Regions from separate parts of the Homo sapiens genome. Here region 1 is linked to region 2. The links are contacts of gene promoters, found by promoter capture Hi-C in blood cells and fetal thymus (Javierre and others, 2016). All regions are on one chromosome and are shown on one strand. Each heading gives the region's core, a stretch centred on a gene start or on the middle of the fragment in contact. The rest is flanking DNA. Distances are from core to core; before and after follow the strand shown. Region 1 holds the start of LINC00544 (long intergenic non-protein coding RNA 544). Region 2 holds the start of HMGB1 (high mobility group box 1).

Region 1 (6,459 bases), core at 2,661-5,160, 530 kb before region 2:
GCACTTGCAGTTTCACCTTGCGCTCTTATGTTATAGATACAGCGTCTTTCCTTAAACCTCATGAACCAACCTCTCCTAACTTCAAACTTTTCTTCTGCCACTTCCTCACCACTCTCAGCCTCCACAGAATTGAAGAGAGTTAGGGCCTTCCTCTGGATTAGGCTTCGGCTAAAGGGAATGTTGTGGCTGGTTTGAACTTCCACCCAGACCAGTCAAACTTTCTCCATATCAACAATAAGGCTGTTTCTCTGTTTTATCATTCATGTGTTCACTGGAGTAACATTTTAAATTTCTTTCAAGAACTTTTTCTTTGCATTTACAACTTGGCTAACGGTTTGGAGCAAGAGGCCTCACTTTCAGCCGAACTAGGTTTTTGGCCTGCCTTCCTTAATAAGCGGAATCTTTTCTAGCTTTCAAAGTCAAGTGGGAGACATGCGACTCTTCCTTCCACTTAAACACTTAGAGGACATTGTAGGGTTATTAATTGTTCCAATTTCAATATTATTGTGTCTCAGGGAATAGGGAGGCCCAAGGAAAGGGAGAGAGATGGGGTAATGGCCAATTTGCAGGGCAGTCTGAACACATACATTTATTGATTGAGTTTGCTGTCTTATGTGGGTGCAATTGGTGGCACACCAAAACAATTACAATAGTAACATTAAAGATCACTGATCACAGATCATCAAAACAGATATAATAATAATGTAAAATATTGCGAGAATTACCAAAATGTGACACAGAGTCATGAAGTGAGTGCTATTGTTGGAAAAATGGCCCTGATATACTTGCTTGACACAGGGTTGCTGCAAACCTTCAATGTGTACAAAACACAGTATCTGCAGAGTGCAATACAGCAAAGCACAATAAAATGAGACATGCCCATCATTGCTACTACTCTGAGACAGGCATTATTAGGCACTGTACCTCTGGTATCTCATGGAATACTTTAAATGCTTCTATGAAGTAGGCATAATTACTACCGCTATGGCTGTTTTTCATAGTTGGTCATCCTGCCCCGATCCTTGCTCCTCTGCAGTCCGTTCTCTACACAGTGGCCAGATGGATTCTCCCCCATGCATCGTCTCACTGCACCCTTCTGCTTCGAATTGCCCCATGGCGTTTTAGTTATATAACACCATCACCCCCAAACATAGTAGCTTAAAAAACAAAAATGATTTCTGTCTTTGTTGATGAGGAATTCAGGAAGGACTTGGTCTGGTAGTTCTCCCTGGGAGGTCCCTATCACAATTGCAGTCATGAGTTGGCTAGGCCTGCCATCATTTGACGTCGTGATGGGGCTAGACAGCCTGCTCCTAAGATGGCCCAACCACACACCTGCCTGGGAAGCTGGGACAGGCTGGAGGCTGGAGGTCTCTGTTCTCTCCACACAGGCTTATCCAACAGAGCTGCTGAGTGTAGGGCGTGGAGGTTGGCTTCGCCATGGGAGCAATGCAAGGTGCCAAGATGGACGTGGTATTGCCTTTTATACTCTAGTCTTGGAAGTCACACCCCATCATGTCCACCATAAGCTAGTGGTACAGGAATTTGCAAATATCTGCTTGGGTTTGAGGAGGGAGGACATAGACTGCGCCTCACTATGAAGTCATGTCAATCATCAGTTGTGGCACAGGGTATGTAGTGGGGTTTATATTGGGGTCTGGGGAATATAAAGCCTGTGTCCAGAACCAAAGCACTGTTCTACCCCTACACAGAACACTCTCTATCCAAAGACCCTTTGGTTAGCATTGCTTTTTGCCATTTCGGCCTTGCTAAGGCATGAGAAATGTTGCCACATCCGTTGCATCTGCTACAAAGGCATGCTAGTAATTATCAGTGATAACAGAATGAAAAGAATACAGTTGGTTTTGAGCTTCTAACATATGGTATTGTTGGCTCTTTCTGAGAAGAGAGATCCTGCTTGTGCCCAAGGAATCCCTGAGGATCCCTACGTAGGACCCACTCATCCCACTGCTTTGTCTCTCTACTACAGGGCAGTCTGTGTCCAGCCACTTCTGGGAAGTGGAGTATCTGATTGGTTACCCTGTGTCATAAAAGAGAGGGCATCTGAACTAATCTCTTTATGCAGAGTTTCACAGCACTTCCTCTGGGTCACACCCTCATAGCTCCATTCAGGCAAGGTATAGATTTGAGTAGAAATATCTGTCCTGAGCATCGAGGTACCGCGGTGATGCAAATGTAAGCCCCAGCACAGACAGCATGTCTGTGTTTCTAGTGAGCTGGCAGATGGCTTTTAAAGTCAAGTTACAAGTGTGTCCAGGCACAGGGACAGCTGTGTGAGCAAAGGAACACTTTTGTGCCAGGGAGGGAGAGAGGACCAGCTCTAGGGGGAACTATAGGCTCTGCAGGCTCAGAAAGAGGCAGGTGTGATGAAAACCTTCCAGGAGCACCTCATCACTCCGTTCAGGCCTCCTGACTCATTAGGAGATTCTGGTGACACCCCGCCTCCCTGGCTTCAATCTCTCTAGCTGTAAGCCTGGGGATTGGAAGACTTGGCACAGTCTTTCCTCCCCAAGGGTGCCGTGCTGATGATGTTTGCAGAGTGCATCACACTCCTCTGATAAAAGGTGTCTCCTGAGTACAAAGTATCATTGTCACTATATTCCACAATGTGGCTAAATATAGGTGTGCACCAATCTGCTGAAGAGCAGAGTGTCTCTTCAGCATTTGCCTGGGAGGAGCAAGTGGCCCAGTGGCTGCATAGGATGCAGCAGAAAAGAGCTGGCATGCAGCAGCAGTGTACCTGAGACCAGGGCATGGGGAGAGGGAAAGGCCCTGCATGCCCCCCTGGTGGGCAGCCCCAGCCCACTTGGTGACAGTGAGGCCTGAGTGCAGCAAGGCTGGAGTCATGCTGTGAAAGCCCACAGTAGCAGAGCCCCTGCCAGGAATATAGCAAGGAGATCACAGATCACAGAGTACATTGCACCTGCCCCATGCAGTGGCGGAGCAAGACGCTCAAGGGTCTGGAGTTAAGAGGGACCATTTGAGGTTAAGAGGGAAGGAGTCTCCCTTGTTTTGGTTTTTGTTTTTTGTTTTCCCACACAGTCCCAGAGGGTACTGTGGTGTTCTGACACACTCCCTGTGTCAGAGCTGTTTTTTCATTATGACCAAGACAGAGCAGGTGTGAGAGCTGAGCATCCTCCCCTTGCTGTGCTCCTCTGGTCTCCAAGGCACCCTCCCCATGCGCTGCTTCCTTCCACTTACCGCCCTCGCACGGCACCACATCCTGAGCTCTGCTTGTTCCCTCTTCAGACTGGCAGGTGGTTATAGAGGTGTTTGGGGTGTCAGCTCTGAAATGCTAAAAATAAAACCAGGCTTTCTATCCTGGGATGTCTCATTAGTTTGCTTACAAATGAGTCCCCCTGCAGTTTTTCAGCAATTGGCTAACAAGCTCTAATTTGAGCGTTTGGGCTGGACCTTGGCTCAGTGGGAGCAGACGCGGAGCAGACGCCTTCTCGGAGCTGCCTGTTTGGGGAAGCTGGTCGTTTCCACTCTAGCTCAGCCTCCCAGAACAGGGAAGCTGCAGGAAAGTTGACAAAAGCACAGCAAAGCAGGGAGAGCCTCCTCGGTAGAGAGCAACGACCAGGTGGGTGTGGGTGTGGAGAGCAGTGGGGCCCACCTGGGCAGGTGCGGGGGGATGGGAGGAGGGGCTGAGAGTGCTCTCTAAGTTAAGGTCACGGTGTAGAGGAGAGGACTTGAAAACTTCCTGCAGCAGCTTCGTGGCCCGGTGAAATGTTCTCAGCAGCAAGCATGAAGCTCTGATTTGTAAAAAAATCAATACGGCTTGCATGCCAACTATGCCTTCTCCAATCCTGCATTTGTGATGTCAGAGGTTGTCATTCTGGGCTATGGAGCAAACCTTTCAGGGTTGACCCAGTCCTTCTAGGTCATGTGGAGTGGGCCAGCTTTAATGAACCTGTCTAAAAGGAAGGAAGAGAAAGAGCTCAGCTCCTTAGGGGAACAAGGTGGACCTTGGCAGCTGTCTCACTCCTCACCAGCTCTTCACCTCAGATCTTGTCCTGACTTCCTGGTCCACTAACGGCCTCCTGGATAGAAGAGTCAGGTAATGATCCCTGCCTTTCAATACTCATTGCTCAGTTTCAACAATCATCAACAATTTGCCAATCTCATTTCATCTCTCCTCTTATCTTTTTCCTTTTCTGGAGTATTCAGATCCTCTCACTTTCTGAGTGGAACTAAGAGTCTTCCTCACCTTCATCACCACTATTAGCTTATAAACCTCTTTTAAGGACAGGGATTCACCTCAGCTCAATTATGTTTTGTTACACACGTGGTACCCATCTTCTGTGTTGAGAGATGTTTGAATTATACAGTTTTTAGTGCATTAAGTGTTAGTGTTTGGGATCCAATTTGGCTCACTCTAGATGAGCTATAGAGTCTTCATTTTTTCTCCTCTCCCTTTTTCCTTCTTGAGTTAAAAATCACAGTTACCCAGCCTCCCCATACCTCCCCCCGCACCCTATATTACCACTTGTTTTTCTTTCTTTTTTCTAACCACACCCTGAGGCATTTCACCAGCAACTCTTTATTATCTAACCACAGTTCACCAGCCCAGGAGATGTTCTGAAAATTGACAATGATCATGATATACCCTGGATCCAGAATACTTCTCTATACAATGGGTGTGTATAAAGACAGACAGACCTGCCAGGCTCCATCAGGAAAGCTCTGTGTCTCCTTCACATGTGGAGGGACAGAATATTATCTGGAGATGGAGAATGCTTCTGAGAGCCTCTAGCACAGGGATCCCCAACCCCACAGCCTCGGGCAGGTCCCAGTCCCAGTCTGTGGCCTGTTAGGAACCGGGCCACACAACCGGGGGTGAGCGGTGGGCAAGTGAGCGTTACCACGTGAGCTCTGCCTCCTGTCGGATCAGCCGGTAGCATAAGAGTCTCATAGAAGCGTGAACTCTATTGTGAATTGCGCAAGTGAGGGCTCTAGGTTGGGTGCTTCTTATGAGAATCTAATGCCTGAGGATGAGGCAAAACAGTTTCATTCCAAAATCATCCCCCGGACCCCATCTGTGGAAAAATTGTCTTCCATGAAACCCGTCCCTAATGCCAAAAAATTTGGAGACCACTGCTCTAGTAGGCCTGCCTACTGGGCTTACTTTGTGTATATGAAATTGATAATTATTCCTCGTTTCAGAAATTTAAAATGTTACATTTATATTTCTTTCATATTTCCAACATTGTACCAAAGGTCAGTCCTAGAATGCTTTGTTTTAGCTGTTTTTCTTTCCTTAGGCAGAGAACAAAGATTGGTGGCTTCCTCCTGAGCACACTGGGATGTGGCATTACATCGGGGCTGCTGAGTGCCCTTACCTTCAGCTGCCCAGATGCAGAGGCAGGTGGGTGGGGCCAGGGAGTTTGATGCTTCACCTCCTTAAGTGAGAACTGCATCATGCAAACAGTCAGCTCTCAGCCAGATGGCACCACAAGGTTCTGTGAATTTCTCTCAGCACAACAAGCACATCTGCCAGTTGGGTTCCAATGCTGTTTTCTCTTTTCTTCTCGGCACTAGACACCAGGGCTTTAATTACACAGCCAAACTCAGCCGCAGAACACTCCCCAGTCTCGTCCTGGCTGGGCCCAGGACCTCCCCACCTCTTCAAAAGCCCCAAAATGGAACGATCATGGCCGGTCATCAGGGCCGGCAGGTGCAAAGGTGCTAAGTGGGCTGAGCTGACCCTGTACTCCTCTTGGTTCTCTCTGTAATGATCCCCTCTTCCTCACAGGCCCCCTTTGCCCTGATCTCGCCCTCCCACCTGCTGTCGGAGGGCCCCTCATGGAGATGCTCAGCCAGGCCCAGACCTCAGCGCTCCCTTGGCCTGGCCTTTCCACTGGGCTTCCTCGTGTCCTTAGTGCCCGGGTCCCCAGGGGAAGGCTTGGCCAGAGAGCTGCTTGGAAGCAACAGTTATTACGTAGACAATTGACAGAAATCTGTGTGGTTGTGCGGCCACACTCCTTTGTCAATCCTGCCCAGATATCCTGCTTTCCTCATAACAGCCAGCATTTTTCTGAGTGCTCACTATGTGCCAGGCACTTTACTGTATTAACTCATTTAATCCTACAACAACCTTATGAGGTAGGTGCTGCTGTTAATCACATTTTACAGATGAGAAAACTGAGGCACAGAGAGGTTCAGCCCCTTGCCCCAAATCACCCAGCTAGTAATGAGCAGAGGTGGGATTCATATCTAGGATTCTAGCCTGACTCAAGAGCCAAAAGGCTTTTAAAAGAAAACCTGAAACTACGTACAATTCCATATGACATGGAAAAAATTAAATAAAGTTCTTGGCTCAAAGGGTGGCATTGTGATGCTTTCCTTTTCCCTTTTCATCTTCTCATTTCCACTCTTAAAAAAATTATTTTTCTCACACAGTGACTGTGACAAGAGTAAATATGATAGTGGAGGTTC
Region 2 (6,399 bases), core at 2,665-5,164:
AAAAGACACTGTACAGTTTAAAAACAAATCTTACACAGCCTTACATTTCAATTTTTTTCTTTAAAAGGAGTGAGTTGTGTACAGGGGGGTTAAATGCTTTATAGACAAGAAAAAAAAAACTGCGCTAGAACCAACTTATTCATCATCATCATCTTCTTCTTCATCTTCATCTTCTTCATCTTCCTCCTCCTCCTCATCCTCTTCATCTTCCTCATCTTCCTCCTCTTCCTTCTTTTTCTTGCTTTTTTCAGCCTTGACAACTCCCTTTTTTGCTGCATCAGGCTTTCCTTTAGCTCGATATGCAGCAATATCCTTCCAAAGCAAAGGGAGGATAAAACAGTAGGGAAGAAAAAAACATTAAGGAAAGAAATAGAACATGGCAGAACTTTATGAAAGAAATCAAGATTCTAGTTATACCAAAATATCACGTATCTGTAGATCCACAGCAACTCCAGAAATAACTAGAACTTCAATAAATGAACATAAAAATACAAGATCATTATAACAATCTATAACTCATGAAATGGCATAGTCTAATATTTGCAAAGTTATGCCTCATTGAGGTGCAATTATGTACCACATCCTAACTCTATTAAAACCAGAATGTAGAGACTTTGATTAAAGGGTAGACACTGCCACCTTCTGAATGCAAAAAAGCACTCTACAGGTTTACACTGTCAGACCTTAATCCTTAGTAGGAAATGTGGTCTTAAAAAAAAAAGGTAATTTGTCAATAAACATGCAATTAGGTTAAGAAACATCTAGAAATAAACACTTTTCAGAATGACTAAAGCTGAAAATTAAGTATTTAATATTTCAATTTACTGAACTATAAGAGTTATAGATTTCCTTAATCTTATTAATTTACTGGACAGAGCAGCAGACTTGTAATTTAACTTAGTGATGCTGTGGTTTTTTGAGTATCTAAAGGAAAAGAACATAAATGTTTCAGGATATGACTAAGAAAAATATAGCCTATATTACTTTGTCTAGCCTGTTTTTGTACTGTATGCCAAGCCATTTGAAAATGCTCATTTTTGACTTGAAGTGACTACCAACATTTTCATGAACTTCAAGATACTGGGGAATAACAAAACCAACATAAATGTACACAGCCTTTGTCTGAGTCTGATTACATTTTAGTCAAAAAAACCCTAATTTATTTGGTCCTCTGCATTCTTTGAAGGATGAGGACTTATATCAACACCATACTTAATGTAGCTGTTACCCTAAAAACTTATTACACCTCAAACTAAGTACAATCATACATCTGGCGTACTTGTCATCATTTTACCAAGCAAACCCACACTTCTTACCTTTTCATATTTTTCCTTCAGCTTCGCAGCCTTCTTTTCATAAGGCTGCTTGTCATCTGCAGCAGTGTTATTCCACATCTCTCCCAGTTTCTTCGCAACATCACCAATGGACAGGCCAGGATGTTCTCCTTTGATTTTTGGGCGATACTCAGAGCAGAAGAGGAAGAAGGCCGAACTAAAAAAAAAATTAATTTTAGGATTTTAAGTTAACAGATCACAAAAACAAATACTATCAAGTGTACACTGCATTGCTATTTAAAGCTGCCTGTGAATTTCTGTGATGCATTGGACAGGGTGCAAATACTATAATATACTAAATATCCTTCACAACCAAAGCTTAATTTACAACTATTTAATTTATACTAGCTAGAACCCTAGATGAACATTCTACAATTACACTATTTCAAAGGGATAGTATTTTTCAAGAAATAAAAAGATCAAAAGGAGATACACTGGGCAAAGGAGACCAAATGTCTAATTCAAATGCTCTGGGAACACTCCCACCCAACAGGAATTTTATACTATTTAAATATAACCAATATGAACAAGTATTAGCTAAGAAACTTTGATTGTACATTTACACTCTAAACTGACAAAGTAGCTTGCTAAATTTCTCTCAGATTCTACTGTAAAACGTGTCTGGGAAGTAAAAACAGGCAAGATACTCACGGAGGCCTCTTGGGTGCATTGGGATCCTTGAACTTCTTTTTTGTCTCCCCTTTGGGAGGGATATAGGTTTTCATTTCTCTTTCATAACGGGCCTTGTCCGCTTTTGCCATATCTTCAAATTTTCCTTTCTCTTTAGCAGACATGGTCTACAAAATAATTATTTGTAAGTTTAAGTTGTAACATTTAAGTAAATTATCCTCAAAACCAATGTCTTTTGCTATGTAATAGCGTCCCACTACGAGAATGCCAACTAGGCTTTTTTTTGCATCCTCAATTGGAAACTGTCTTTTAATTACCTTGTTAGCATGTTTTAAGCCCTCTTACCTTCCACCTCTCTGAGCACTTCTTAGAAAACTCTGAGAAGTTGACTGAAGCATCTGGGTGCTTCTTCTTATGCTCCTCCCGACAAGTTTGCACAAAAAATGCATATGATGACATTTTGCCTCTCGGCTTCTTAGGATCTCCTTTGCCCATGTTTAGTTATTTTTCTAAAAAATAAAATAAATATTTGATGTTAGCAATAAAATTATGACATATAAGACCTTAAAGTACTTAGTAAGGGAATGAAAACCAAAGTACTGGTTATTTAACACAGTAGCGACATCAACCTCCGTAAAATCAGACAAGAATATGGCCGAGAGATTAAATTCCTTGAAGGGGCTATGCCAAGCAAACAAAACAAAACAAAAACAGTCCTTCAGGGCGATCTCAAAAAGTCTAGACACAAAGATATACCCATACAGTATTCCCTATCTATCCGCCCGAGTCTGCTCTGAATGAGTATCTAACTGGTCACTTAAACGATTTTAAAATCTAGAACACCATTTTAAACCAACCAAACCAAAGGTCAGAAAACATGCTGCCAATTCGTGGCTTTGCACTAGATAGGGAATAAACAAGGGCCTAAGCGAGTCGACTCTTCCTAATTATGGGACCTTAAAAAAAAAAAATCACCGTGCACCGAAAGTTTCAAAAAACACCCTCTTTGCATAAAACTTTGCTCCAAAGAGGGAGCAGCAGCCAGCTCCGGTGCTCGGAACCCGGTTGGGGGGTGGCGGTGCCACCGCGAGGCAGCCTCGTTTCCTATCGGTTTGGCCCTGAGATGTATTTCTGTTCTGACTAAACACGTCCGGTCTGAAGTTTCTCCGAGTAAACAAGGATGAGGGACAAAAGCCACTCCTGCTCGTGGCTCGGTGGCCCCCTCCCCCAACTCGGGAAGTATTTTTTGGAGCCGTGAAAGTTGGGGTGACTCCTGCGCGGGGCGAGCCCCCCGCCCCTAGAACTTCGCCGGTGGCCGCGCGGCCGAGGAGAGAGGACGCGGCCCGGCTCCCAGGCCCGAGGCCGCCACGTGCGCCCGGCAGGCCCTGCAGGCCCGCGCCGCCGCCGCCCCCATTTTGTCAGGCTCGGCGCAGGGAGAAGCCCCGCTCGAAATGGGGGCTGGCTCCGCCCGCGGCCGCCGGGGCCGGCGCGCACGGAATGGCCGCTGCGCGTCTTCTCCGCCTGCGCCGCCGCCGCCGCGAGGGCGAGCGCGAGCGAGAATATGGCTCCTTCCCTTTGTGTGTGTGTGTGTGTGTGTGTGTGTATGAGAGAGTGTGTGAGTGCGAGGGTGCGGGCGCGGCGGCGGCGGCGGGCGGGGTGCGAGCCGCGCTCTGGCGCACACACTCGGCCATTACGGCCGGGGGAGGGGCGGGGGGCGCGCGGCCGGGCCCTCCCCTCCGCGCCGCTCCCCTCCCCCCGCCGCGGTGGGGGCCGCCCGAGGGCCCACCCGCCCGCCACTCCCCGTCTCCCTCCGCGCGGGCCGCGCGCCCCGCCGCCCCCGCACGGAGAACGCGGGGCTGTGAAAAGAGAGAGGAAAAAAAAAGTTGCCTCGGAACTGCTGCGCCCAGCTCCCCCGCCCGCCCGCCTTGTTTTCTCTCCAGCCAGCAGCGCCGGGCCCGAGTCAGCCATGTTCCAGCGAGCGCAGCGGCGCCGCTCCCCCCGCCGCCCGGCCGCCGCCGCCGCCGCGACCGGGCCGAGGCCGGCCGGGCCCGCACTGCCGCCCCCAGGCCCCCGCGCCGCCCTCGCCCGCCGCGGCGCCCCGCCCGCCCCGCCGCCCGCCCGGCTGGCCGCGCTCCCCGCCAGCGCCCGGCTCGCTGCGGCGGCGGCCAATGCAGCCCGGGGAAGCGCCGCCGCTGCCCTCCCGCCGCCGCCGCCGAGCCGCGCCGGCCCCGCCGCCCCGGCCGCGCTCCGCGCACGCCGCCCGCCCGAACGCCCGGCCCGAGGGCCCAAAACACGTTCAAAATTTTTTTAATTAAAAAAAAAATTTTTTTTTTTGCGCCAGTCAGCGCGGACGCCGCCGGGGGTGGAAACTCGCGGGGCGCGGGGCTCCCGGCGCCTCAGGCTGCCTGAGGGCCGGGGCACCGGCGCGGGGCAGCGTTCCCGGCGCCCGGGCAGAGGCTCGCTCCGTGCGCAGTTCCCCCCACGGTCCCCCCTCATTTGCCTTTGTGTGGATCCTGACCCGCCGGCTCCCGGCCGCGGGGATCCGGCCGCCGCGCGGGCTGGGGAGCTGCCGGAGGCGCTCTCCCCGCCGCGGCGCTGCCCCAGACTCACCCTCAGCGAGGCACAGAGTCGCCCAGTGCCCGTCCGGCTCTCACTTGCCCCGGTGCTGTCTCTATGGAGCTCAATGTACTGCAATGGCTGTGAGAGCGGGAGCCAGACGCAGCCTCCTCACTCTCTCCGCTCTGTAACATTACTCTCCAGCCAGCGCGGCTCCTATTGGCTACCGCCAACTCACGGGGCTCGCTCATTGGCCCGATACCTCCCATTGTCCTGACCAGAGCCCGTTTGCTATTGGCTGTCTCCGGGGACACGTCATCAAGGATTGAAACAGCGCGCAAATCTGAATGTGTGTGTATGCCGGGCAAAGAGGCTGAGGCGGGAGAGGCAGAGGCAGAGGCAGCAGCTGCTACGGGAAAGCAGAGCTCTATGGTGTATGTGTGCATGTGTCTAACCCAAGCCAGCCCCACACCGGAGCGGCCGCCGGAGCGAAAAGGGCCTGACTTTTCCACAAGTGTCTCCAACTCCTCAGGCAAAAGAGACACCCACAGGTCTCCCCCCCCCTTCTTGCCCCACATTCACGCCCAAAGCCGTTGAGATAAGAGGCCCCAGGCTTTTAATGGCCCTTCAAAAGTGAGGGCGACACTATGGGATCATGTCCCCTGAAAACTGGGGTCTCTGCTGGTGCTGAGGGGCGGAAGCCGCCGAGCCTCGAGCCCCTCAAAGGTCTCTGATTGCGTTACACTTTAGGTCTCTGGAAAGGCAGGGCTTCTATAAGAAAGTGACATGATCCAGCCAGCCGGGTTTAAAATACCCCTTTTCTGGGCTCATAAGCCGTCACGTCAGGCTCGCTGAGCAGCTGAAATCTTGAGTCAGTGAGCAGGCATTCAGTTTCACCCTTTTTCTTGGTTTGATCGAGTTTCACAGCATGTCTAGAACTTTTTATTTAAATACAAAGCACTGTCTTAACTTCCTGGAAATCAAATAATTATTCCATGTAATTAAAGAACAGCCACTTGGTTTGATATGGGGTACTCTAGCAGGAAATGTTTGTGAGGCCCTGGTAGAATTAGCAAATTCATTAGAGACCACATTCTAAACTGTTTGGCTATTTTATTTGACTTGGTGTGGATTACTGTTACAATCAAACGAATCCTTGTGATGCTATCTTTCCCTCCCATCACACCACTTAGTGCATCCATGTAACTGCTCTAGGATTACAGGAGTTGTAGGTATATGGTTACCCGAAGGATTAGATGCAGGCAGAGAGTGCATGTGCCCAAATCCACAGGCTGTGGTTTCTCTAACTCACCAAGCTGGCTGGTATTAATAGACATACTTACGTCTGTAGAGAAAATGTGCTGGCTGTAGTGGCCAGTTCTGAAGACTCTACAGTTATATCAGTCCTTTATGAAACTACTATCTATTCCTTTTAGCCTGAGCAGACCACGCCCCTATTCAGTTATAACAGACTTCCCTTTTTTTTCACTCTCTAATGGTATTTTGTACACTTCTAAATCCAACAACCAATTCCTCCAAATGTAACAGATCAAATTTGGAATAAATCACCTACATCGTGTTAATTTGATTTTTTATATCGCTTATAAGCATCCATAACCTAATTTATTTCCTCAAATGTATTAAACTACTTGAGAGTAAGCTTAGATAATCTTTCCTGTTTTAATGTTGATTTCTTTTTAAAAGAAAATACACTATCGGACTCAGGGATTATAGTCTTGGTGAATGGACAATATATCACACATGCACATGAAAAAGACTATAATATTAAAGAGGATATAAATTGGTATACTGCACATGCAGTGTTTAAAGATAATATATCTAAAGTTAACTTTTATGTTATTATTTTCACACATATTTA

Evidence for each region. Contacts are between HindIII fragments. The CHiCAGO score rates a contact against its expected background, and 5 or more counts as called.
Region 1: a contact is called between the fragment with the promoter of LINC00544 here and a fragment that was not itself captured in region 2, in 3 of 17 cell types (total CD4 T cells, naive CD8 T cells and naive CD4 T cells). The highest score is 5.7, in total CD4 T cells.

The regions. Positions count from the first base shown.
Region 1 is chr13:29,932,621-29,939,079 of GRCh38, forward strand. LINC00544 (long intergenic non-protein coding RNA 544) reads left to right here and starts at 3,911. Exons shown (of 5, transcript NR_033889.1): 1 at 3,911-4,081; 2 at 4,582-4,661; 3 at 5,286-5,389. RefSeq lists enhancers at 2,195-2,254, 2,975-3,094, 3,225-3,344. The HindIII fragment of the contact is 6,836 bases long and covers 1-6,459 here.
Region 2 is chr13:30,461,222-30,467,620 of GRCh38, forward strand. It overlaps HMGB1 (high mobility group box 1), which reads right to left and starts at 4,715. Exons shown (of 5, transcript NM_002128.7): 1 at 4,575-4,715; 2 at 2,310-2,473; 3 at 1,986-2,131; 4 at 1,317-1,491; 5 at 1-312. The coding sequence starts at 2,459. The coding sequence ends at 136. RefSeq lists silencers at 3,139-3,778, 4,378-4,687 and enhancers at 4,123-4,898, 4,899-5,674. The HindIII fragment of the contact is 4,528 bases long and covers 1,651-6,178 here.